4 separate regions of the Homo sapiens genome follow, and all the other regions are linked to region 1. The links are contacts of gene promoters, found by promoter capture Hi-C in blood cells and fetal thymus (Javierre and others, 2016). All regions are on one chromosome and are shown on one strand. Each heading gives the region's core, a stretch centred on a gene start or on the middle of the fragment in contact. The rest is flanking DNA. Distances are from core to core; before and after follow the strand shown.

Region 1 (5,585 bases), core at 3,086-5,585:
GGGTCTGTGGGGGCCCGTGAGAGTGGGCCTGGGCCTGTGGGGGGGCCGGTGAGAGTGGTCCTGGGTCTGTGGGGTGGGGGCCGGTGAGAGAGGTCCTGGGTCTGCGGTGGGGGAGGGGGACGTAAGAGTGGCCCTGGGTCTCCGGGGGAGGGGAGGGGCGTGAGAGTGGCCCTGGGTCTGTGGGAGCCCGTGTGAATAGCCCTGGGTCTGTGGGGGGCCCGTGTGAATAGCCCTGGGTCTGCGGGGGGCCCTGTGTGAGTGGCCCTAGGTCTGAGGGGGCCTGTGTGAATAGCCCTGGGTCTGCGGGGGGCCCATGTGAATGGCCCTGAGTCTGCGGGTGGCCCTGGGTTGGCGGGGTGGGTGGGGAGCGTGTGAGTGGCCCTGGTATATGTCAGGCTTCCCTGTGGTCCGGCACGGGGTGGTCTCACCTGCTAACCCAGGGCCCTCTCTGTTTATTGCAGCCCTGCAGCCGCTTCCCAGTTGCGCCCTCCTCTGCCCTGGCTTCGTCTGAGGACCTGCAGCCCCCTTCTCCAAGCAGCTCTGGCTCTGGGCTTCCCGGCCAGGCTCCACCGTGCTACGCACCCACCTACTTTCCCCCGGGGGAGAAGCCACCCCCCTACGCACCCTGATAGAGGCGTGGAGTAAAAGATAACTTGTTTGTTTTTTTTTTTAAAAAAAAGGCAGCCTCTAGAAATCCCGCTTCTGTGGCCAACCTCCTAGAGAACCCGGGAGAATGTTCCAGAAGTCTGTCCCCTCCTTTCCTCCCTGGGCACACTGGTGAGGGAGGCTGGAACCAGGCAGGGAGTGGGGCCCTCCAGACCCAGGCTGGTGACACCTTGGCTTGGGCTCTGCTCACATCAAATGGCGCTGAAAGTTCCCACCCGGCCTCCTCCTCTGAGAGCAATTGTTCTGGTGTTTTCACATCCCTTAATTAATTAGCTATTATTATGATTTTGCAAAGACAGTGCAGCCCCGGCCTCCCTGCCTGTGTGTTCTTGTTTGTGGACATGTGTTGTGCGTTACACGTTCGTGTGTGCATCTGTGTCCTGGAGAAGCGCAGGGCAGAAGCCACCCGCCCCTCGTGCTGTGCTCCTGACGTATGCCAGGAAGGGAAGGACGCTTCGGCTCCAACGCCCAGCGCTGTGTCTAACCGCCTGTGAGTTGTTAGAATCCAGGGGCCCGGTTGTCTTTCCCAGCCCCGGATGCAAATCTGCCTGGGCCACTGGCACGAGGGTCTTCCCCTGAGCTGTCTCCCAGCTACGGCGCCTGGGCTTCCGCTGTCCTTCCGCGGCTTCTCCCTCACCGCACCTTGTCTCAGGACCCCTGGCCGCTGGGATGGTGGGGGACGGTGTTTCGGGGTCCTTTGGCTCAGGGTCTGGGGCCGCAGCACTCCCTGTGGAAACCAGCTTAGCTCCCCGCGGGCCCAGCATGCACCTGCCGGGCACACCTGGGGAGACGGGTGAGCACGCCTGGGAAGCAGCAGGTCCCGGGTGGGTCACAGGCCCCGGGTGGGTCACAGGACAGGTCTCAGGTGGGTCACAGGTCCTGAGTGGGTCACAGGTCCCGGGTGGGTCACAGGCATCCCGGGTGGGTCACAGGTCCCGAGTGGGTCACAGGCCCCGGGTGAGTCACAGGCCCCGGGTGAGTCACGGGTCCCGGGTGGGTCACGGGTCCCGGGTGGGTCACGGGCCCCGGGTGGGTCACGGGTCCCGGGTGGGTCACGGGTCCCGAGTGGGTCACGGGTCCCGGGTGGGTCACAGGCGCCCCAGTGACAGGAGTTCAGGATGCGCCACCCCAAAGTAGCCGAAGTCTCTTGAAAAGTGTTGGATGTGGGGAGAGGCTTTCTCTGAACTCCTGAAGTCAGATCCTCAGGGAACCAGGGACTCCCAGGGCGGGAGGGCGGGCGAGAGGTGATCCCATTGCTCCCCAGACGTGCCACAAGACACCAAGTCGCCGTCTCTGCTCTGTGGGCCGCTCACGGTTCCCCAGTCACTCCCTCTCCCCTCGGAAGCTGGCGCCTCCAGGCCTCACCGCTCTCAGGGCCTCACGTCCCTCCCTGCAAAGCCCCCCGTGCCTACGATAAACAAGTACCGCTCTTCTCCCGTGTGGGTCTGAGGTCTCCAGCTTACTTCACGGAACAGTGCCCACCTGGGAGGTGGAGCGGGGACTTTCTCCCCTGCCCAGTCCTGGATCTGGGAGAAAAAAGATAAGGTGGAGGGGAGCCACACTCGTGCAGACACAGCCTCCTGCCCCCTCTGCTGCCCGGGAGCCTCCCTCTGTCCGATGGAGGGTCTCACACAGCCTCTGCCCCCTCCGCTGCCCGGGAGCCTCCCTCTGCCCGACGGAGGGTCTCATCCTGTGTCCAGCGCTCCTGGGCAGAAGGCCCACAGCGCACATCCACACATGAACGGTGGCTGGCTGGGCCCAGGGGCCCTAACGGGCCTCTGAAAGGCCTGCAGCCAGCTCTGGTCTGTGAACCCGCCACTGCTTGTCATTTTTATCTTATAAAATCCAGCCTCACAAGCTTGCTGTCCAGGAGAATGTGGTCTTGGCCTCTCAGGGCTGACTGGCCTTGAACCAGTCCGGGAGGTCGGGCACGAGCCGGAGGTGCGGCGTCCTGTCTGGAAATCACCGCCCAGTTCCTCCAGGGCTGTGGGTGCCTGGCTCCGAGTAAGAAGCTGAACAAGCAGCAGAGACCAAGAGGTTTCTGGAGCGCCGGGAGATGCACTCACGAGCGCCTGTGGGGGAAGAAAAGTGTGCCACGGATTTCCCGAGTCCCCAGGGCTCTCACTTTACCTCAGGGAAGGCTCTATGGGCGCCGATGGTGCCGTGGTCTTGTGTGGGCGGTTCCTGGGCACCCTGGAGCTCGGGCTGTGCCCCCGAAGCTGCCTGGTGCAGGCACCAGCACCTCTTGGTGTCCTAGGGGTGCGAACAGCAGAGAAGCTGAACTGCAGGTCTGGGCAGGGAGTCTATGCCCCCTGGAGCTCTGGCCAGCAAAGTCACAGGAATAACCCTCCTTCCCCTCATGTCAGCCCTCGGTCGCAGGGTGCGGTGTGGGGGCATCAGAGTGCTTCCCCGAGGCTGCACTCACCAGCTTCCCCCAAACACAACATCGATCTTTCCCGACTTTTAATCTTGTCTAGAGTCAAAAGCTGTTCAAAAATATTCAACTCCAAGGTCAACAGTTTTGTTCTTGCCACAAAAATGTCCTTATCCTTTATCCCAGCCACAAAGAATGTGAACAATTTGACTCAAGGTTCGTGGTGGCTGGAGGGTCCCCCAGGTCCCAGGGCAGCTCCCACCTGGCGCAGGGCTCCGGCCAATGCCTGGCCTGCAGTGTGGGCGGCGGCTGCTCTCGAGGTGCACCTGTCTCATGTGGACGGATCCTGTCTGGGGCCACCAAGCTCTGCCAGCCTGAGTCACGGTCTGATGAACCCCCTCTCTGGGCTCCGCTGGGGCCTTCTGATCCCAGCCTCCTCTGCAGGGATGGGCTCCCAATCCCGCCCTCACTTGGTTCCCATGCACAGCCGAGGTCAGTGAGACCCTGGAGGCCGCGGGAGATGGGGTGGAGGGGATGGTGGGGCAGGGGGTGCTGGGGGGTTTGGGGGTGCTGTGGCCCCGGGGCAGGGGGTGCTGGGGGGTTTGGGGTGCTGTGGCCCCACCTGCACTCCCTGCCTCACTGGGACAGCACAGGAGACAGGCTTCTCCTGCAGCTCAGAGGTGGGGGCCTAGTGTAGCTGCAGGTTGTGACTGAGGAGGGCAGGGTCAGAGCATTGCCCTGGGCAGGGGTCCGTTGAGACTGGCCCCACCTTATTAGCTTGGGACCTTGGGTTACAGGGAGTCTCCTCCTGCCTCAGTTTCTACATTTCACACAGCAGCACTGCTCACAAGAGCTCCCAAGCAGAGGCAACTACTGAGTGGGGGAGGGACACAGTCCGTCCACATGGGGCCAACGGCCACAAAGAGAGGAAGGGACATGGGTGACGGTCCGTCCACGTGGGGTCACCGGCCACGGAGAGAGGAAGGGACATGGGTGACGGTCCGTCCACGTGGGGTCACCGGCCACGGAGAGAGGAAGGGACATGGGTGACGGTCCGTCCACATGGGGTCACCGGCCACGGAGAGAGGAAGGGACATGGGTGATATGGTTTTGCTGTGTCCCCACCCAAATCTCAACTTGAATTGTATTTCCCAGAATTCCTGCGCGTTGTGGGAGGGACCCAGCGGGAGGTAATTGAATCATGGTGGCTGGTCTTTCCCGTGCTATTCTCGTGATAGTGAGTAAGTCTCACGAGATCTGACTGGTTGATCAGGATTTCCGCTTTTGCTTCTTCCTCATTTTCTCTTGCTCCTGCCGTGTAAGAAGTGCCTTTTGCCTCCCACCGTGATTCTGAGGCCTCCCCAACCATGTGCAATTGTAAGTCCCGTTAAACCTCTTTTTTTCCCAGTCTCGGGTATGTCCTTATTAGCAGTGTGAAAACAGAATACTACAGTGGTCCATCCACACGCGGGTCTCACCCAGCCACAGAGAGGGAGAGGACGTGGCCCATCCACACGCGGGTCACCCGGCCACGGAGAGGAAGGAAGCTCTAACGGGTGCTGAGGCTGTAACACACAGTGCTCAGGGAAGGACACCAGACATGAAGACTGTGTTCTGTTTATATGCAGTGTCCAGAGAAGGCGTGTCCACAGACAGAAGCCGACTGGGAAAGGAGGTGCAGTCACTGCTCAGGGACACGGGTTCTTTTCGGGGAGGCAAGCGTGTTCGCAGCGTGTTCTGTATGGGGAGAGATGCAGTCACTGCTCAGGGACACGGGTTCTTTTCGGGGAGGCAAGCGTGTTTGCAGCGTGTTCTGGATGGGGAGAGGTGCAGTTACTGGTCAGGGACACGAGTTCTTTTCGGGGAGGCAAGCGTGTTTGCAGCGTGTTCTGGATGGGGAGAGGTGCAGTCACTGGTCAGGGATACGAGTTCTTTTCGGGGAGGCAAGTGTGTTCTAAGCGTGTTCTGGATGGGGAGAGGTGCAGTCACTGGTCAGGGACACGAGTTCTTGTGGGAAGAGGAGTGTCCGGGAGCCAGATGGCAGTGATGGGTGGACGGCCCCGTGGATGGACTGACCACCGACCCATGCTCTGCACTCATGAGGCGTGGCTATTGCTGTGTGAATCACATCTCCATGGAAACGGGAGTGGGAGAAACGGGCCCCAAGGATGTTGTGAAGATGGCCTTATGGGGCTGCACTGGTGACTTGGACAGTGCTGGCCACCGGCCCTGCTCAGTGAACAAGAGCCATGGTCATCACCCTCGCCACACAGAGCAGCTCCTCCTGCAGACTTGGGGACCCCGTGGCCACCAGACCCCGCGGTGGGAGCAGAGATGCCTCCGAAACTCTGGAGACCCACAGAGGCAGAAGAGGATTCCACGAGGCCGGGGCCCGTCAGCAGATCCTCAGACGGCGACACGCGCCACTTCCTTTTCTGTTTCCTAGACCTTTTAACTGATGGAATTCAGTAAGCAGAAAACGTGCTTGAAACAAGGGCACCATGGAGCGGACCCTCCCCCTCTCCCCTCGTGGAGTCCTTGACCC
Region 2 (5,924 bases), core at 422-2,921, 430 kb after region 1:
TCCAGGCTGGAGTGCAGTGGCACAATCACAGCTCACTGCAGCCTCAACCTCCCAAGCTCAAGTGATTCTCCCACCTCAGCCTCCCGAGTAGCTGGGACTACAGGCGCCCGCCACCATGCCCGGCTAATTTTTTGCTATTTTAGTAGAGACGGGGTTTCACCATGTTAGCCAGGATGGTCTCGATCTCCTGACCTCGTGGTTTGCCCACCTCGGCCTCCCAAAGTGCTGGGATTACAGGTGTGAGCCACTGTGCCCGGCACAGTTGGCTAAATTTTTTAAAAAATGTTTTGTAGAGACAGGGTCTCACTGTGTTGCCCAGGATGGTCTCAAACTCCTGGGCTCAAGTGATCCTCCTGCCTTAGTTTCCCAAAGTGTTGGGATTACAGTCATGAGCCACTGCACCTGGCCCATTTATTTATATTTTTGGTAGAAGTTTATTACTTGACTTTTCACCTTAGATAGTTATTTTTAAGCATAAAAGAATATTACACATTCTAGGTTTTTGTTTTTGTTTTTTTTTCTGGCCACTCATTAATGTATGTGTTGGGAAGCAGATTCTTCTGTTAAGAAATGCATTTATGAAAGTGTGTGGTACAGTCATTATTTTGGGACCTCTTATCCATTAACTTATTTGCTATGAAATGTGTGATTTATTTGCAACGCATTATTATTTATTTTGTGAAATTACATTTTTAAAAAACAACTCCTAGGATATTGCTTAGTTCGAAGACTCTCATAATTCATTATTTTTTCTAAAATTTTACTTTATGAATCTTCTTCATATCCTTAATGATACTAGCTGCCTGTTGCTGGATCATCTTTAAATTCAGTTATGTGTTCGAGGTCCAGAGTCTAGAATGTGCATCAGATTTCCACATCTTCGTGTTTATGGTAGTCGTGAGATGGCTGTTGAACGCCTTACTATGTGCTAGCACCACAGAGATGGTAGCATCTCTAGCCCTCACAGACTTCTATAAGTTAGATAGTAAAGAGTTCTATAAGTTAGATAGTGTTTTTATCTTTTTACAGATGAGGATAGGAAATGGAGGCCAAGAGAGGTTCAATCACTTGTCCGAGGTTACAAGTAATTGGCAGAGCTGGGGTTTGAACTCAGGTCTGTGCTGCCTCAGCAGGCCATTGTGCTGACTGCTGTGACCACTCTGCTGCATTGCTGCCAGTTTCTGCTCATTAAGATCCTTTTGAGGGGTGTCTGCCTATCACACTGTCAATCTTGGAGTTTTATACACATGCACACACACTCTGCCATCTCTAAATCATTGCACTGTTTTGGACAAAACAGGTAATGAACCTAGTAGCCGTGACATGTACTTTTGTTATAAAGATGTGTTGGAACAGAGCAGTTGAAGCCCAGGGAAGGTGAATTGAAGAAGCTTTGCTGTGCATTTTTTGTGTGTTTTTATTTATGCCTTGACAGTTGTGATTGACTAAATCCTTTTAAATGCAATAAAAACTTCTCAGCATTCAAATACACAATTCTCTATCAAAAGTTAAGTTTAAGGGCCAGGCATGGTTGCTCATGCCTGTAATCTCAGCACTTCGGGAGGCCAAAGTGGGAGGATCACTTGAGGCCAGGAGTTTGAGAGCAGCCTAGGCAACATAGCAAGATTGTCTGTACAAAAAATTTAAAAAATTAACTGTTTGTGGTATTGTGCACCTGTAATCCTAGCTACTCAGGAGGCTGAGGCAGGAGGGTCATTTGAGATCATAGGAGTTCAAGGCTGCAGTGAGCTATGATCGCACCACTGAACTCCAGCCTGGGAGACAGAGTGAGACTCTGCCTCTAAGGAGAAAAAAAAAAAGTTAAGTTTAAAAGTACTGACTTAATATGTGACTCATCATTTTTCCAACAGATAAAGAGTTCTATCTGTCTTCTACGCGGGAAAATCTATGATGCTCTAGATAACCGAACCCTGGCTACCTACAGCTACAAAGAAGCTTTGAAGCTTGATGTCTACTGTTTTGAAGCGTTCGATCTTTTAACATCACATCACATGCTGACAGCACAAGAAGGTTTGGAAACTCAGGCTTTTTTGTTTTATGTTTAGCAAAATTAATATTGTTTGGATTTTTTGCCTCTGAAATCTTCTAAGTCAACAACAGGCCACATACAGGTTTAAATAGACCTACTCACTTTCTTAATGTCTTCAAATGTAAAGCACGTTGCAGAATGCAGTATTGTACGGTGCCTTGTGCTGTCCGAATCTAGGGATTGTGATAGGAAGAGGCCATCTTTTTGAGAAGTGATTGAGATAGTATAAACCAGGATTTCAGTATCTCATGCAGTGATTCTCAACCGTGTTGCTCTTTACATCCTTGGGAAGACAGAGAAACATCCATGTCCAGTTCCCAACTCCAGAGCAGATGCTTTAAAGCTCCCAGGTGATCCTAATGTACCACAGGCACTGAGAATCAGTCCAAGTATGTTGGCAGTGGTGTGAGGTGCGTCAACAAGGGAAACAGAAAATAGAGTGGTTGGATTAATGGGATTCTAACATATTTTAGCCTAGTGCAGTGGTTCTCAACCAACCAGAGTGATTTTGCCGCCCCCTGCCCCGGGAACAGTTGGCAATGTCTGGAGATGTTGTTTGTCACAGCTTAGGGGCAGGGAGGGAGGTTGAGAGGTTGCTGCTGGTATCTAGTGGTTAGTGGCCAGAGGTCCTGCTTAGCACCTGCAGTACACAGGCTCCCCTGTTCCCAGCAGAGCAAGATCCACGCAGTCAGGAGTGCGGAGGCTGGTGGTTCTTAGGTGACAAGAGCCACCTGGGGACCTGCCTCAGCCCTGAAAGAGTAGCCTCCACCCACCAGATGATTCCCGTCTTCAGGCCTGGAGCCACTGTGTCAGCTTCTGTTGCACATTTTGATCTTATGTTCTCTTTTGAGTTTGATTTACTTAGACCAAGAACTGTAGAATCATATTTTTAGTTGTTGGCTTTTTCCCCTCTATAAATATTATGAGGATATTCTTTTTTTTCTCACCATTTTTAAGAAAAAGAACTTCTTGAATCACTACCCCTTAGCAAGCTGTGTAATGAAGAACAGGAATTGCTGCGTTTTCTATTTGAGAACAAATTGAAAAAAGTAAGTAAAACCAAAGAGTTAGCACTTGCTTTATGTAAATATCTTATTCCATAAAATTTGGCATCTAGTCTTATATTAAGTTTTCAAAATTAAAACTTTTTAAATTTAGCACATTTTTAAGAATAGAGCGTTTAAGATACATAAGATTCCAAAAAAAAAAAGCTTTCAAAAATACCTTTTTCCTCTGAAAGACTCCTTATACTAAAAGATTGAATTACCAAGTAAATGTAAATGGAATGGTGTTGCATGGAAATGAAGATTTTTTTGTTATGCTTCCTGAATGTTTACTTTGAGAAATACGTCCCGCTGTGGAATTCTGTTCTAAAATTGAGAAGGGAATTAAACTTACTGAGAGGAGTACTTATAAAACCTAAAGTTATAAGTTTTCAGAGGCTCTCACATTTGTTCTTGTAAATGTTTTAACCACTTGGGCCAAACACAAATTGAATCCACATTTTATTTTGTTTTTGCTCATTGAGTTTATGTTTACATTTCTATGTGTTTCAGTATAATAAGCCTAGTGAAACGGTCATCCCTGAATCTGTAGATGGCTTGCAAGAGAATCTGGATGTGGTAGTGTCTTTAGCTGAGAGACATTATTATAACTGTGATTTTAAAATGTGCTACAAGCTTACTTCTGTGTAAGTATATCCATCCATTTTTCTGTAGGAACATGGAGTTCACTCCATCTTACCTAGGTGATTCACGGACGTGCTCTCTGAATAATCTTGAACTAGATGATAATTTAAGTTATCTTTACCAATTGTAGAGCACTGAACAGGGTGCTGTCTTAAAAGAGCAATTTACAGACATGAATTTGTGCATATTTGTAGATTTATTACATTAACTTGGGAGGGATATACATGTTGCTCTTACTGATCTTGATAATTTGCAAGTTTGAAAATTCCATTTTGGCACATTGTTTTGTAAAATTTATTCTCAATTATGAGACTCACACTGTAGATACTAGGTGTTTAATATGCTGCACGCAGTAGCTAAGCCATCTCCCACATGTATCAGTTTTCCAGTGTACCTAATTTAAACTTTAGCTAAATGACATATGCTATTTTTTGTAGATCTTGGTTCGGTTTAAAATCCTTGAAATTACAAAAATTTTAATTGGCAAATACACATAACCTATTTATTAGTTTGGTGCAAAAGTAATTGCAGTTTTTGCTGTTGAACGTAGTGGTAAAACTGCAGTTATTTTTGCACCAACCTAATAGGATTTCCTGTTGGTTTTGATTCTTTTAAATAAGCGGCCTACTTATTTTATGTATTACAATTCTGTTGACTTAAAGTAAATGTATGTGATAATGTTTATTTTTATTCCTTTCAAATAAACCAGAATTTTTTCTTTCATTTGTAACTTAATTATGGCCTTAACTGAATCAACCTGAAGATAATGGAGTGAAGAAAGTGAAGTGTTACAACCCACAGCATCATATGTGATACCATAATGACTGTCTACACATAGCCGATCGTCGTGAGTGCTGTCACCTGCTGGTTTGGGGGTAGTAATGTGTCGCTTTAACTTTCAGAGTAATGGAGAAAGATCCTTTCCATGCAAGTTGTTTACCTGTACATATAGGGACGCTTGTAGAGCTGAATAAAGCCAATGGTAAGACTTTTTTTTAAATTAAAGTAATTCTTAGACATAAAACAAATCTTTTCTGTAACTTGAAATTTTGTCTCTGAAATTCTGGATAGTTGAGATTGCAGGTAACAACATAATGGAACCCTACTATAAAAGTAACAACTGGGGAGGAAATGTTTAGGAAAGTAGCAAATGGCCAATTTTGTTTTCCCATCAGAACAATTAGTTCTTTATCACTGCTTCCTACTACCTTTTCTCAAATATCATTTATGTTTCAAGGTTTGTTAGCTTTAAATTGTTGGGTGTCAGTTCTGCCTCCCCCCCCCTTTTTTTTTTTTGTAAATTCCACTGGAAATCTGATATGGTAAGAGTTGATAACTACTTAGAAATTGGAAAGGAGCAGATTGTTTGCTCATGTTTTCCGTATTTTTAACATTTGACATTTAGTTGTGTTTGGGGATGCATTTGTCCTTAAATTTTTCTAAACTGAATGGTGAGCTCTGTCAGGAAGGAAAACCCTCACCGAATCCCTGCTGCTCAGAGTGTGGTTCGTGGACCAGCAACATCGCATTTGTGGAAGCTGGTTGGAAATGCAGCATCTCCAGCTGCTCTGGTCTACTGAATCCAAGTCTGCATGCAGGAAACATCATCTTGAAATGCCAGGATTTACACATTTCTCAAGATTAAATAGTATCATTGATCTGATAAACTTGAAAGTTTGTTCAGCCAAATTGGTTGTGGGTGATTATGATGGTCCATAATGGGCCCTTGGTGTGACAGGCATGAGCTTCTAAGAGAGGTGAGGTGCTTTGCTGTATCCTCTGCAGTATTCGGGAAGTGCTGTCTTAGGGGGTGTCTGTTCCCACCTTGCCCACAGTGTGTCCTTCATCTAACTCTCCAGTTAGAGAGTTAATTTTTTATCTAGAAGGAAAGACAAGTATGAAATCATTGCTGTAAGAGCAGAATTATATGATTGTGAAGAGTTGTAATGAAATCATGTCTTAAATTACATGTGATACGAACAATTGTTCTTTTTCTGCTTTTTCCTGAACAGAACTTTTCTATCTTTCTCATAAACTGGTGGATTTATATCCTAGTAATCCTGTAAGTAATATAACTTTTAGTCTTAGTTTTTTTTTTTTTACCTGTACTTTAAGAAAATGCTTAACTCGTATTTAGACAATAGCTTAAGTTCAAGCAAATGATGTTTTATTAAAGTGTTGCAACA
Region 3 (6,003 bases), core at 2,747-5,246, 500 kb after region 1:
CCTATTTAAAAAAATGTCTAAAACTCGGAAATAAGGCAAAAAAGAGTGATTGCATGGCTGTGTCATGTCTGACAAGCTCCGATTATTTAACAGTTGACCCACATTTGTGCCCACACTGTGACATCACATGTTTCCTTACGGATTTTTGCCCAGTAGAGATGTGAGTGATTTCTATAACATGGCCTCAAAGGTGGCAGTTGTGCTTCCCTGTAGGATCCTAACCACTTTTGTTTCTAACTGGCCATTTGACTCCACTTTTTCTAGTGGCTGCACGTACTCAGCTTTATGAACCTTCTGAACTAGCTTCATCCTCCTCTGGATTCCCTCATGAATGAGTTAAATAAATCCTCTGAGATTGAGACCGTCCTGGCCAACATGGTGAAACCCTATCTCTACCAAAAATACAAAAATTAGCTGGGCGTGGTGGCAAGTGCCTGTAGTCCCAGCTACTCATGAGGCTGAGGCAGGAGAATCACTTGAACCCGGGAGGTGGAGGTTGCAGTGAGTAGAGATCGCACCACTGCACTCCAGCCTGCCGACAGAGCAAGACTCCGTCTCAAAAAAAAATACAAAATAAAATAAATCCTCTGATATGTGTTCACTTTATATTCGTGTGAGTCATGTGTTTAACTTTTGAGAACTATACTTTGACATTCCCCAAAGCCCAGCAACAGAGCTAGATACTCAGGAGGAATTCCATTTTATCATACTTCCCATTAAGTAACTTATTTTAGTTCCCATTATTTTGCATTATTATAAATTAAGTAGAAATAGCAGAATAATTTGTCCTTTTTTATTATAAAGTAGCTAAGTTGATTATATTAGATCTAAATTATAAGCTGGACTGCTTTTATTATTTCTCTTACAGGAAGCACTTAATAATTTATTTCTAATTTTTATTATGTTCCTTGTAATACATATTAATGCAGCAATTTGAATGGAAAAATTAAGTCTGACTTTCTGACAGAAAGCCAGTCTGATTTTGGCTGCTTCATTTGACAACATGATTCTGTGTAGGTTTTGAATATGTGCAGATACTCAGCACTGTTATTCTTTATACACAGAAGACAAATGACAAAGTCCAGTGCCATCTCAGCTAATGAGTTTGCAGCTCCTCAAAGGCTGTCAGGCTGCCACTTTCTACTGCAATTGTAGTTCACCTGCCTCTACCCATTCCCTGATTCAAGTCTGGTCCCTGGAACATAGTATAGGTTGAGAAAACATCAAAATAAACTGTTGAGAAGTATATGTTCAATAGATCCTTAAGTGAAATTTTGAAAGTCCATAAGGGTCTGGTTTTAGTACAGGATTTTATGAGAGTTATTTCTGCTTTCTTTGGTTACTTTAAAGTTTAGTGCAATATACTGGGAACCTTTCAAAAGGCCAAATTGGGAGTTTATTTGCATTATTCATCTTGAACTATTTAATATTCTATAACTACAATAGCTTTTTTAACATGATTTCAATTCAGAATAATAGCAGAGGGTGTTTTGGTTTTTGTTATTTCGTCACCAAGAGTTGCCTTCTGCTAGAGTTTTGTTCAGTGTTCAATTGGAATAGGTCTCTTGGGATCATCAACTCATTCTGACACTTCAGGAAAAAACAACTGAAGCAGCCATTCAAATTAGGTCCTGCAGCCACAACGAACCTGTTTCATATTAAGAGTCAGGATCTCAAAAAGTTCTCAATCAGTAAATCTTTGCTATTCAGAGAAAATAAAAGATCCTCTCATTTCTGCATTTAACATTTACAGTTTACAAACTGTTTTCATTGGCTCTTTTAAAAGCTTGTAACTAGGTGGATACTTTTTAAAGAAATCTATTAAATTTAATGAATCAATTTTGCTGCAAAAACAAAACTTAGAAAAATCCTAAAATATTTAATATTGATATTTGAATCCTAGAAATCAGAATCATTCCGGAAATTAACACAGGATCCTAAATTTTGCATGAAAGGGAGGTAGAGCCAGGCGCTGTGGCTCACGCCTGTAATCCCAGCACTTTGGGAGGCTGAGACGGGCGGATCACGAGGTCAGGAGATCGAGACCATCCTGGCTAACACGGTGAAACCCCGTCTCTACTAAAAAAATACAAAAAAATTAGCCGGGCGTGGTGGCGGGAGCCTGTAGTCCCAGCTACTCGGGAGACTGAGGCAGGAGAATGGCATGAACCCGGGAGGCGGAGCTTGCAGTAAGCCGAGATGGCGCCACTGCACTCTAGCCTGGGCGACAGAGCGAGACTCTGTCTCAAAAAAAAAAAAAAAAAAAAAAGAAAAGAAAAGAAAAGAAAAAAATGTAAACACAATATAGCAACTTTTGTGATACAGCAAAAGCAATGCTAAAGGGGGAGTTTATAGCTATAAATACATCAAAAACCAAGAAAATCTCAAATTAACAACCTAACTTTACAACTTAATGAACTATAAAAAGAAAAACTAAATCCAAAGCTGGCAAAAAGAAGGAAATAATAAAGATTAAAGCCAAGATAAATGAAATAGAAAATAGAAAACGATAGAGAAAATCAATGAAACCAAAAATTGGTTCTTTGAAAATGTCAAAGCATTATTCACAATATCTTGAATAGGGAAGCAAGCCAAGTGTCCATCAACAGGTGAGTGGATAAGCAAAATGTGGCATATCCATACAATGGGATAGTATTCAGTGTTAAAAAGGAAGGAAATTCCACAATGTGCTACAACATGGATGAACCTTGAGGATGTTCTGCTAAGTAAAATAAGTCAGTCACAAGACAAATACTGTATGATTCCACTCTTATGAGTAGTCAGACTCAGAGACACAGGAAGTAAGATGGTGACTGCCAGAAAGTAGAAGGTAGAGGGGAACCGAGAGTTAACATGTAATGCATAGTTTGTTTTTCAAGATGAAAGAGGTACAGAGATGGATGGTGGTGTTATGAATATACTTACCACCACTGAGCTGTACACGTAAAGATAGTTAAGACGGTAAATTCTATGGATTTTATTTTTATTTTTTTGAGACAGAGTCTCACTCTCTCCCCCAGGCTGGAGTGCAGTGGCGCGATCTCGCTGTAACCTCCGCCTCCCCGGTTCTATGGGATTCTCCTGCCTCAGCCTCCCTAGTAGCTGGGGTTACACGCGCCCGCCACCACGCCTGGCTAATATTGTATTTTTAGCAGAGACAAGGTTTCACCAGGTTGGACAGGCTGGTCTCGAACTCCTGACCTCAGATGATTCACCTGCCTAGGCCTCTCAAAGTGCTGGGATTACAAGCGTGAGCCACCGCGCCCGGCCATTCTATAGTTCATTTTCACCACAAAAACAAAAATGAAATTCACAACAAGCAAAACTTCAGAAGGGTACAAAGGTAGAGAGCAGTGTGAGCTAATTTTACAGTCTTTCAAAGCATACAGACTGATGGCATCAGCATTAGAGGTGCATGCATTTTAATTAGAATTGTGGTGGTAACATTCATAAAACTGAAAACAAAAAACGAAGAAGATAACTTCTGGGAATCGGGACTTTCAGTGGAGGCGGGGTGATGAGAAAAGGAATATTTACTGTCATCCAACAACTTTGTCTTGTACTTTTGTCATAGGTATTATGCCAGTAATATCCCTGAGAATGTATGGGGCAGGTCTAGCTCTTTTTTTCCTAATAAATTCATTCACACAACAATCAAAACAGCAAGAAAAGGAAGAGATATCCGCACGGCGGCGGCAGGCCGGGGCCGTTCCAAGGGCCTGGCCGGAGGCCACAGGCCAGACGCGGCGGAACCCTCCCGGAGCCGCGCCCGGGCGCGCGCGGGAAGCGGAGGCGGAGTGGGCACGTGCGGCACTTCCGGGGCGGGGCGGGCACGCAGCCCTTCCGAAGGCCCGCGCGAGCCGCTAGTTTTGCCCACGCACTTTTGGCACAGCCGCGCCACGCGATCGGCGATCTGATTGGCCCGCGCGGGAGGGCGCGCGGCGCCAAACTTGCTTCCCGTCAGCCCCCGCCCGTCCCGCGGGAGCGCGCACGCTCGCGCACCCGGATCCCGGCTCCTGCATCCAGTCGCCATTCGGGAGGCCGCTGCGCTGCAGGGCCTCGCGGAGCCGCCCGCGACCGCGAGCCGGGCCCTCCGCGCGGTCCATCGCCCACTGGACGCCGCCCGCGGCCGGACCGGTGAGGAGCGAGAGCGAGCGGGGGAGGGGCGTGGTTGGGGCCTGCATCCCCGAGCCCCGTGTCGGCCGCCGACCTGGCGGGGACGGTCCCGGGAAGCCGCGGGTCCGAGTGAAGGGGGCCTGCGCTGCCTCGCTTCCCACACGGCCCGAGGGAAGGGCCCGCCCCCACAGGCCGGGGCGGGAGTGCGTCTTTGTGCAGGGAGCGGGGAGGCCCGGTGTCAGTCGCTGCCGAGGCTGGAAACATTGCGTTTGAAACCATTGGGAAGTTGAGGGCGGCACAAGACGAAAGCCATTCTTTCTGTTTTAGTTCTAGACTGCCTCCTCTTCTGTCATTATTACTGTTTAAAAATCCGCTATACAGCCTCCAAAGTGGGAGAGGACATTTGTAAACCTGATAAAGAGTTAATGTCTAGAATACAAGAAGAGATGCAACTGACCAACAAAAAGCAACCCAGTTCAAGAATGGGCAAGGAATTTGAATAGATATTTCTCCAGAGAAGAGAGACAAATGGCCAATAAGCACGTGCAGTGATGCTCAACATCACTAACCATTAAGGAAATGCAGATGAAAACCACAATGAGATACCACCTCACACCTGTTAGGGTGGCTATTAAAAAAAAGGGAAATTATGAGTGTTGGGGATGTGGAGAAATTGAAGCTCGGGTGCATTGCTGGTGGGAAAGTAGGGTGGTGCAGCAGCTATGGAAATTGGTAGTCGTTCCTCAGTTCTAGGTTTATACCCCCAAAAATTGACAGCAGAGACTCAGATACTTGTTCACAAATGTTCATCGCAGCATTATTCAAAATCCAGATGTCTATCAACATGTGGATGAAAGGCAAGCTGTGGTATATACATATAATGAATGGACCATTGTTCATCTTTAGAAAGGAATGAAATTCTGATACATGCTGCAATATAAACGAACACATTATACAGTATAAACGAGCACATTGAACACATTATGTTGAGTGAAATAAGACACAAAAAAGACATACTGTATGATTCCCCCTCAGGCACAGAATTGAGATTACCAGCACTGAAAGTGGAGAGTGGAAGTTACTGTTTCATGGGTACAGAATTTCTGTTTGTGGTGAAGAAGTTCTGGAAGTGGATAGTGGTGATGTTTGCACAACGTTTTAGTACTAAACTAACTAAATTGTGCTTTTAAAAATGATTAAATGGCAAGTTTTGTTTTTTTTTTTTTTTTTGAGACGGGAGTTTCGCTCTCGTTGCCCAGGCTGGAGTGCAATGGCCCGACCTTGGCTCACTGCAACCTCCGCCCCCTGGGTTCAAGGGATTCTTTTGCCTCATTCTCCCAAGTAGCTGGCATTACAGGCGCTTGCCACCACACCTGGCTAATTTTGTATTTTTAGTAGAGATAGGGTTTCTCCATGTTGGTCAGGCTGGTTTCGAACTCCTGACCTCAGGTGATCCACCCGCCTCGGCCTTCCAAAGTGCTGAAATTACAGGCATGAACCACCATGTCCGGCCTAAATGGCAAGTTTTTTGTTTTTATTTTTGTTTTTGTTTTTTAATGAGCCAGAGTTTCACTTTTGTTGCCTGGGCTGGAGTGCAGTTATGCGATCTTGGCCCACTGCAGCCTCCGTCTCTCGGATTTAAGCGATTCTCCTGCCTCAGCCTCCCAAGTAGCTGGGATTACAGGCGCCTGCCACCACACCCGGCTAATTTTGTATTTTTAGTAGAGACGAGGTTTCTCCACGTTGGTTAGGCTGCTCTCTGACTTTCAACCTTAGGTGATCCGCCCACCTTGGCCTCCCAAAGTGCTGGGATTACAGGCGTGAGCCTGTGGTGGCGCGCGCCTGTAGTCCCAGCTACTGGGGAGGCTGAGGCAGGAGAATCGCTTG
Region 4 (5,732 bases), core at 2,047-4,546, 410 kb after region 1:
TGAAAGTGACTCACACTTGGCTGGGCATGGTGGCTCATGCCTGTAATCCCAGCACTTCGGGAGGCCGAGACAGGCGGATCACGATTTCAGGAGATCGAGACCATCCTGGCCAACATGGTGAAACCCCGTCTCTACTAAAAATACAAAAATTAGCTGAGTGTAGTGGCGTGCGCCTGTAGTCCCAGCTACTCAGGAGGCTGAGGCAGGAGGATCGCTTGAACCAGGGAGGCGGAGGTTGCAGTGAGCCGACATCGCGCCACTGCACTCCAGCTTAGGCGACAGAGCGAGACTACGTCTCAAAAAAACAAAAAAACAAAAAAAGTGACTCACACTTACTTGGCAAAAGATAAATTTGAGTTTCTTTCCTTTTTCCTCCTGAAGGCCCTTTACCATCCAGCAACAAGCCAACATGGCTCAGTTTACTGATTCCGGGAAAAGTACTTTGCTGCATTTCAGAAAGATGTTTAACAACAAAACTGACAAAAGGTTATCTGATTATTTGAATAGAGATTTCTCCCAACAGGATATACAAATGGCCAATAAGTGCATGAGAAGATGTTCAATGTTATTAGTAAATGCAAATGAAGACCACAGTGAGATGTCACTTGCAGCCACTAACTTGTCTGCAATCAAAAGGTAGATTACAATAAGGATGTGGAGAAACTGGAACCCTCATAGGCTGCTGGTAGGGGTAAACAGTGGTATGTATACATATGTAACAAACCTGCACATTGTGCACATGTACCCTAGAACTTAAAGTGTAATAAAAAAAAAAGGAAATGAAATAAAAGGTACACAAACTTAAAATGAAAAGAAAAAAAAAGAGTGGTGCAGCCACTTTGGAAAACAGTTTGGTAGTTCATCAAAAAGTTAAACAGTTACCAAATCACCCAGCAACTCCACTCCTAGGTCTATATTCGAGAGACTTGAAAACATACATTCATGCAAAAACCCATACACTGATGTTCATAGCAGCACAGTTCACAATGACCAAGAGGTGTAAACAACCCAAATGTCTATCAACTGATGAACAGATAAAACGTGGTATAGCCATAGAATGGAATATTATTCTACCATAAAAAGGAATGATACTAGTTACAGAATGGATAAACCTTAAAGACATTATTATGTTCCGTGAAAAAGCTGGATACTAAATGCCGCATGTTGTCTGATCCCTTTTATATGAAATGTCCAGAATAGGCACATTCAAAGAGACAAAAAGTAATCAGTGGTTGTCGGGGCTGGGGGAAGGGAAATTGGGGAGTGATCCCAAAGGAGTTTGATTTTTGGAGGGGGAGGTGATGAAGATGTTCTGAAATTATATTGTGACAATAGTTGCACAACTCTGAATATACCAAAACACACTAAAATATACACTATAAAGGGGTATAGAATTGTATCTAAATAAAGCTGTTATTTTAAAAATTGTATGTTTAATTCTAAGTAAAGACTTGTCAATGAGTTGAAATATTCCATTTCCCAAGTAAGTTGATAGTTTCTTGTTCTTGCCTAAGAAAGCGTTAGTTTCAAATATGTATTTTAAATCCAGCAGGAAGTGAAACTGGATTAGCAAGCGCACAGCCAAGCCTGGACCCTAAAAGAGAAGTGAGGAAGGGTAAGGATTCAGAACACAAATCCAGAAAGAAGACAAGTGTGATGAGGGAGTCACAAGGAAGACCCACAAGGCCAGCCATGAGCTCCCCCAGGCTAACACAGCCAGCGGTCTCAGGGCAGTGTGGGGAATCAGCCTTGCCCAGGGCCGGGGCCAGGGCAGCCCCGCTGTCTTCCTCTCTTCACTGTTATCACAGCCGGAGCAGCTGTGAAGTGCCCAGGAGGCAGCTCCTCAAACGGTGTTTCAACAATGTGCCCGAGCAGATGACGCAGCAAAACTATTTTCTGTGCTTCTTGGACTCTGATAACTGGAAACAAACTATGCAGAGTCATGTTAGGAGGTGAGGGTTTGAATTAGATTGTTTTCTCTAGCTATGAAGACTTATTCTGTTACTGTATTTTGAGCTGTGGTGGATTTGTCTATAATTCCTAGGTGGATTTTTAACTTACCTTAAAAGCTCTGTGATTGTTCCTTTAACAAATATCTAAATAAATCAGATTAAAATTTTTGAACGTGATGAAACTACAGCTTGACTCCAGAATACATAACCTAAGATATAAAAAAGACCCAGAGGGCCAGGCACGATGGCTCACGCCTGTAATCCCAGCACTTTGAGGGGCCGAGGTGGGCGGATCACAAGGTGAGGAGTTCGAGACCAGCCTGACCAACATGGTGAAACCCCATCTCTACTAAAAATACAAAGAAGTTAGCCAGGCATGGTGGCGGGCACCTGTAATCCCAGCTACTCAGAAGGCTGAGGCAGGAGAATCGCTTGAACCTGGGAGATGGAGGTTGCAGTGAGCCGAGAACGCGCCACTGCACTCCAACCGGGGCGACAGAGCAAGACTCCATCTCAAAAAAAAAAAAAAAAAGAAAGAAAAAAGAAAAGAAAAGAAAAGAAAAAAGGACCCAGAGAGTCTCGGTTGGAGACATCAAGGGTATGTCTGAGAGCCCTTGGGATCTGCTTAGTTCTCTATCAGCCCCAGGTAAGATCCCGCCTAAGCTGTTCCACAACAATGAACATCAGCCCATGGGCAATGCCTTTTAAAAATGAGTTAAAAGACTCACACACACCTTCATTCATTCAACAGAACTCTGCATATGTAGTCTCAGCCTCATGGAGCTGATAGCTAGCCCCTCAGAAATGTCACGGTCCCTAACTACTCTTTGCTATTTATTTATTTATTATTTTTATTTTATTTATTTATTTTTTGAGATGGATGGGATTACAGGCACATGCACCACCACTCCCAGCTAATTTTTGTATTTTTAGTAGAGACGGGGTTTCACCATGTTGACCAGGCTGGTCTTGAATGCCTGACCTCAGGTGATCTGTCTGCCTTGGCCTCCCAAAGTACTCTTTGCTATTTTTAACCTATATTATAGATTTAAATTTTTGTTTTGTTTTGTTTGAATGAAAATAAGAAGATAATTTCAGGCTGGGCATGGTATCGCACACCTACATTCCCAGCAGTTTGGGAGGCCAAGGTGGGAGGGTCGCATGAGCCCAGGAATTCAAGACCAGCCTGGGCCACATGATGAGACCCCGTCTCTACCAAAAAAAAAAAAAAAAAAAAAAAGAAGCAGCAGCTAATTTCATTCCTTATTTCATTCCTTTATGCACAAGCCCCTTTAAAATACACTTGACATGAATAGCAGAGCTTGCCTCCGGCTCCTCCATGCAGAATTCGGCAATCCCAGGTTCCTCACCGCTCCTCAGGGTGGACCTTCCATTGACAGTGTTTAAAATCACAGACTGTGGGGTCAGACAGGCCTGGATGTGGATTCTGGGTCTCCTGCTGATCCCCCGAGTGGACCTCCCGAAGCCTCTCCTGTGCAGCAGGTGGTGCTGGAGCCTGAGATGCCGGCATCGGGCCGGGAGGAGCTGGGCCTCTGCCCACTGCAGCCATGACCTCTCCAGGCAGCCCCGCCCCCCTGTGTCGTGAAGCGCAACTGGGCACAGGACCTCCATTAACAGTCCACGTCTGTGCTAAACTTGATGGAAAAAATGGCCTCTCCATAGCGATTTGTGTCCTTGGTTTGCAAGCCTCGAATTTGCACCTCCTTTTCGAGGTGGCAGTTTAGGGTTGACTCTGGCAGCATTTTCCGAATGTGCCTGCCTGTGTGTCCCCACCTTGTTCCACCCCACAAGGGTTGTGCTGTAGGAGTCCTGGCCTCTGCCAGCCCTCCCTGATGGGCCCTAATGCAATGAACGTCAAAGGATCTATCACAAAACTAGAAAGGCTGCTGTCTGGTCCTGAGAACATTGTTCTCTTTTCAATCTCTCTTTCCAGAGAGCAAACAGTTTATAAAGACTGACAAATTGCTACACATAGTCAAGAAGTAGACAAAATCTTGCCATTACACAGAAGAGCCATAATGTCAGCTCTTTTCCCTTCTGGACTTTGCTCAGAGAGTCAGTGGACAAATGAGCATCCTGCCAGCAGCCTTAGTGTAAAAACCAGCCACCCACAAGCTCTGATGACCTGAAAAGTCAAGTACCAGGTGCATTTTCAGATCCAGAGATGTGTCTGTCCCATGTTACTCTGGGTATCAAATTAATTGAAACCTATAGAACTTTGAAATGCTTTAAAACCATCATAAATATAATGGATGGAGCAGTGAGGACAGAAGCCTGTCTATCCTGTGTGAGGTGGGCACACAGGAAATACGTGTTAAATATAGAAAGGAAGAAAATAAAGGAGGGAGAGAAGAAGGGAGAAGGGAAAAGAAGGTAGAAAAGTAGTCCTATAGTGGAAGAGGAGGGGAAGAGACAGAAGGAGGAGGAGGAGGACAGAGGAGGGAGGGGGAGGGGGAAGGGCTAGGGAGGGGAGGAGAAGTGAGGGGGGAAAGGGGAGGGGAGGAAGGGGAGGGGGGAGGGGGGAGGGGAAGGGGAGGGAGGGGGAGGGAAAGGGGGAGGGGAGGGAGGGGGAGGGAAAGGGGGAGGGGAGGGAGGGGGAGGGAAAGGGGGAGGGGAAGGAGGGGGAGGGAAAGGGGGAGGGGAGGGAGGGGGGATGGAAAGGGGGAGGGGAGGAGAAGCGAAGCCGGGGGAGTGGAAGGGGAGGGGAGGGAGAAGAGAAGGAGGGAGGCAAAAAGGGGAGTGGGAGGGGACTGGGGAGGACGGACAAGGAGAAAGAAGGAGGAATAAGAATTGCAGGCGTGGCCCAGGCTGGTACTGGGGTGGGGGAAGGGAGTGCCCCCTGCAGAACAGGAGGCTGTTGCCCTAGGGTATGCAGGGCTCACCTGAGGAGCCTCCTTCATTCTGAGCCCTGAGCGCCTCCTCTGCCTCACTCCGGTCCCCACCCTGCAGTGGTGAAGCCAAAGTCGGTAAAGCAGTGGCTGCTGTGTGTTTTCTCCAGGTCAGTGGGACATGGGGCTGCTGGACATCTCAGCCCTTTGGCCGTGGCTCTGCCGAGTTTGATCGCCACACTCTTCCCTGCTGCCACCAGAAGGGTCACACAAGGCCACTCTCAGGACTCCCAGACCTCATCTGTCTCAGAGAAGAACGAGGCCACTATAAAAGGGTGATGTCTTTGGCCTTAGGGGGCGTGTAGGCCCCTCTGGTTGCGATGTGGATAGAGTTCCAGATGTGAGGGAATGTTCTGGAAATGCAACCTGGGCAGCTGATGGAGTCCAGGCCCTTCGGGTGCTAACGCTGTGAAACATCTCTGTTTCAGAAATGGGTGCCAAGCCTGGAGGGCAGGCTTGCTTAGCAAAGAAGGCAAACTCTGGTGAGCTACAGCTGGGTTCAGCACATGGGTCTGGTAGGGAAACACACATTGAAACGTTATTAAAACCAGCAAGACTGACACAGGCGGCAGACTGTGACGTCTGTCCCATGTTACACTGAGCTTGTTTTCAGGTCCGGAGATGTGCCAAAGCCGTGCCACACTGGGCTGGAGCCACTCGTGAAATGTCATTACGCTCACACAGCTGCAAAGTTCTCAGTATTTACCAACTAGGACTTTTCTTGTATTGGTATTTGTTTAATTGTCTTCTCTCCTCAACAGTAACTATAATGTCCTAAAACTCCGTAGACAATAAATAGTTCTTTAAAGACCAGATTTAGTTTTCATGTAACCTACAGGTTGGGGAAGGGGAACCACAAATTGCATTGACC

Evidence for each region. Contacts are between HindIII fragments. The CHiCAGO score rates a contact against its expected background, and 5 or more counts as called.
Region 2: a contact is called between a fragment that was not itself captured here and the fragment with the promoter of GAS6-AS1 in region 1, in 1 of 17 cell types (total CD4 T cells). The highest score is 5.0, in total CD4 T cells.
Region 3: a contact is called between the fragment with the promoter of CHAMP1 here and the fragment with the promoter of GAS6-AS1 in region 1, in 2 of 17 cell types (total CD8 T cells and non-activated CD4 T cells). The highest score is 5.5, in total CD8 T cells.
Region 4: a contact is called between a fragment that was not itself captured here and the fragment with the promoter of GAS6-AS1 in region 1, in 10 of 17 cell types (non-activated CD4 T cells, erythroblasts, total CD4 T cells and 7 more). The highest score is 7.8, in non-activated CD4 T cells.

The regions. Positions count from the first base shown.
Region 1 is chr13:113,811,275-113,816,859 of GRCh38, forward strand. It overlaps GAS6-AS1 (GAS6 antisense RNA 1), which reads left to right and starts at 4,336. Exons shown (of 5, transcript NR_044995.2): 1 at 4,336-4,417. It overlaps TMEM255B (transmembrane protein 255B), which reads left to right. Exons shown (of 9, transcript NM_182614.4): 9 at 462-5,585. The coding sequence ends at 629. RefSeq lists enhancers at 4,220-4,289, 4,340-4,579, 4,640-4,759. The HindIII fragment of the contact is 6,758 bases long and covers 2,523-5,585 here.
Region 2 is chr13:114,240,250-114,246,173 of GRCh38, forward strand. It overlaps CDC16 (cell division cycle 16), which reads left to right. Exons shown (of 18, transcript NM_001078645.3): 6 at 1,872-2,031; 7 at 3,008-3,099; 8 at 3,607-3,740; 9 at 4,641-4,720; 10 at 5,751-5,800. It overlaps MIR548AR (microRNA 548ar), which reads left to right and starts at 4,256; the gene lies at 4,256-4,312. The HindIII fragment of the contact is 565 bases long and covers 1,390-1,954 here.
Region 3 is chr13:114,310,507-114,316,509 of GRCh38, forward strand. CHAMP1 (chromosome alignment maintaining phosphoprotein 1) reads left to right here and starts at 3,997. Exons shown (of 3, transcript NM_032436.4): 1 at 3,997-4,137. RefSeq lists silencers at 2,588-2,882, 3,655-4,334. The HindIII fragment of the contact is 6,923 bases long and covers 1,785-6,003 here.
Region 4 is chr13:114,220,949-114,226,680 of GRCh38, forward strand. CFAP97D2 (CFAP97 domain containing 2) reads left to right here. Exons shown (of 4, transcript NM_001395229.1): 4 at 1,553-2,137. The coding sequence ends at 1,559. Among named protein-coding and RNA genes, the nearest start is that of CDC16, 11 kb to the right of the region's middle. The HindIII fragment of the contact is 7,731 bases long and covers 1-5,732 here.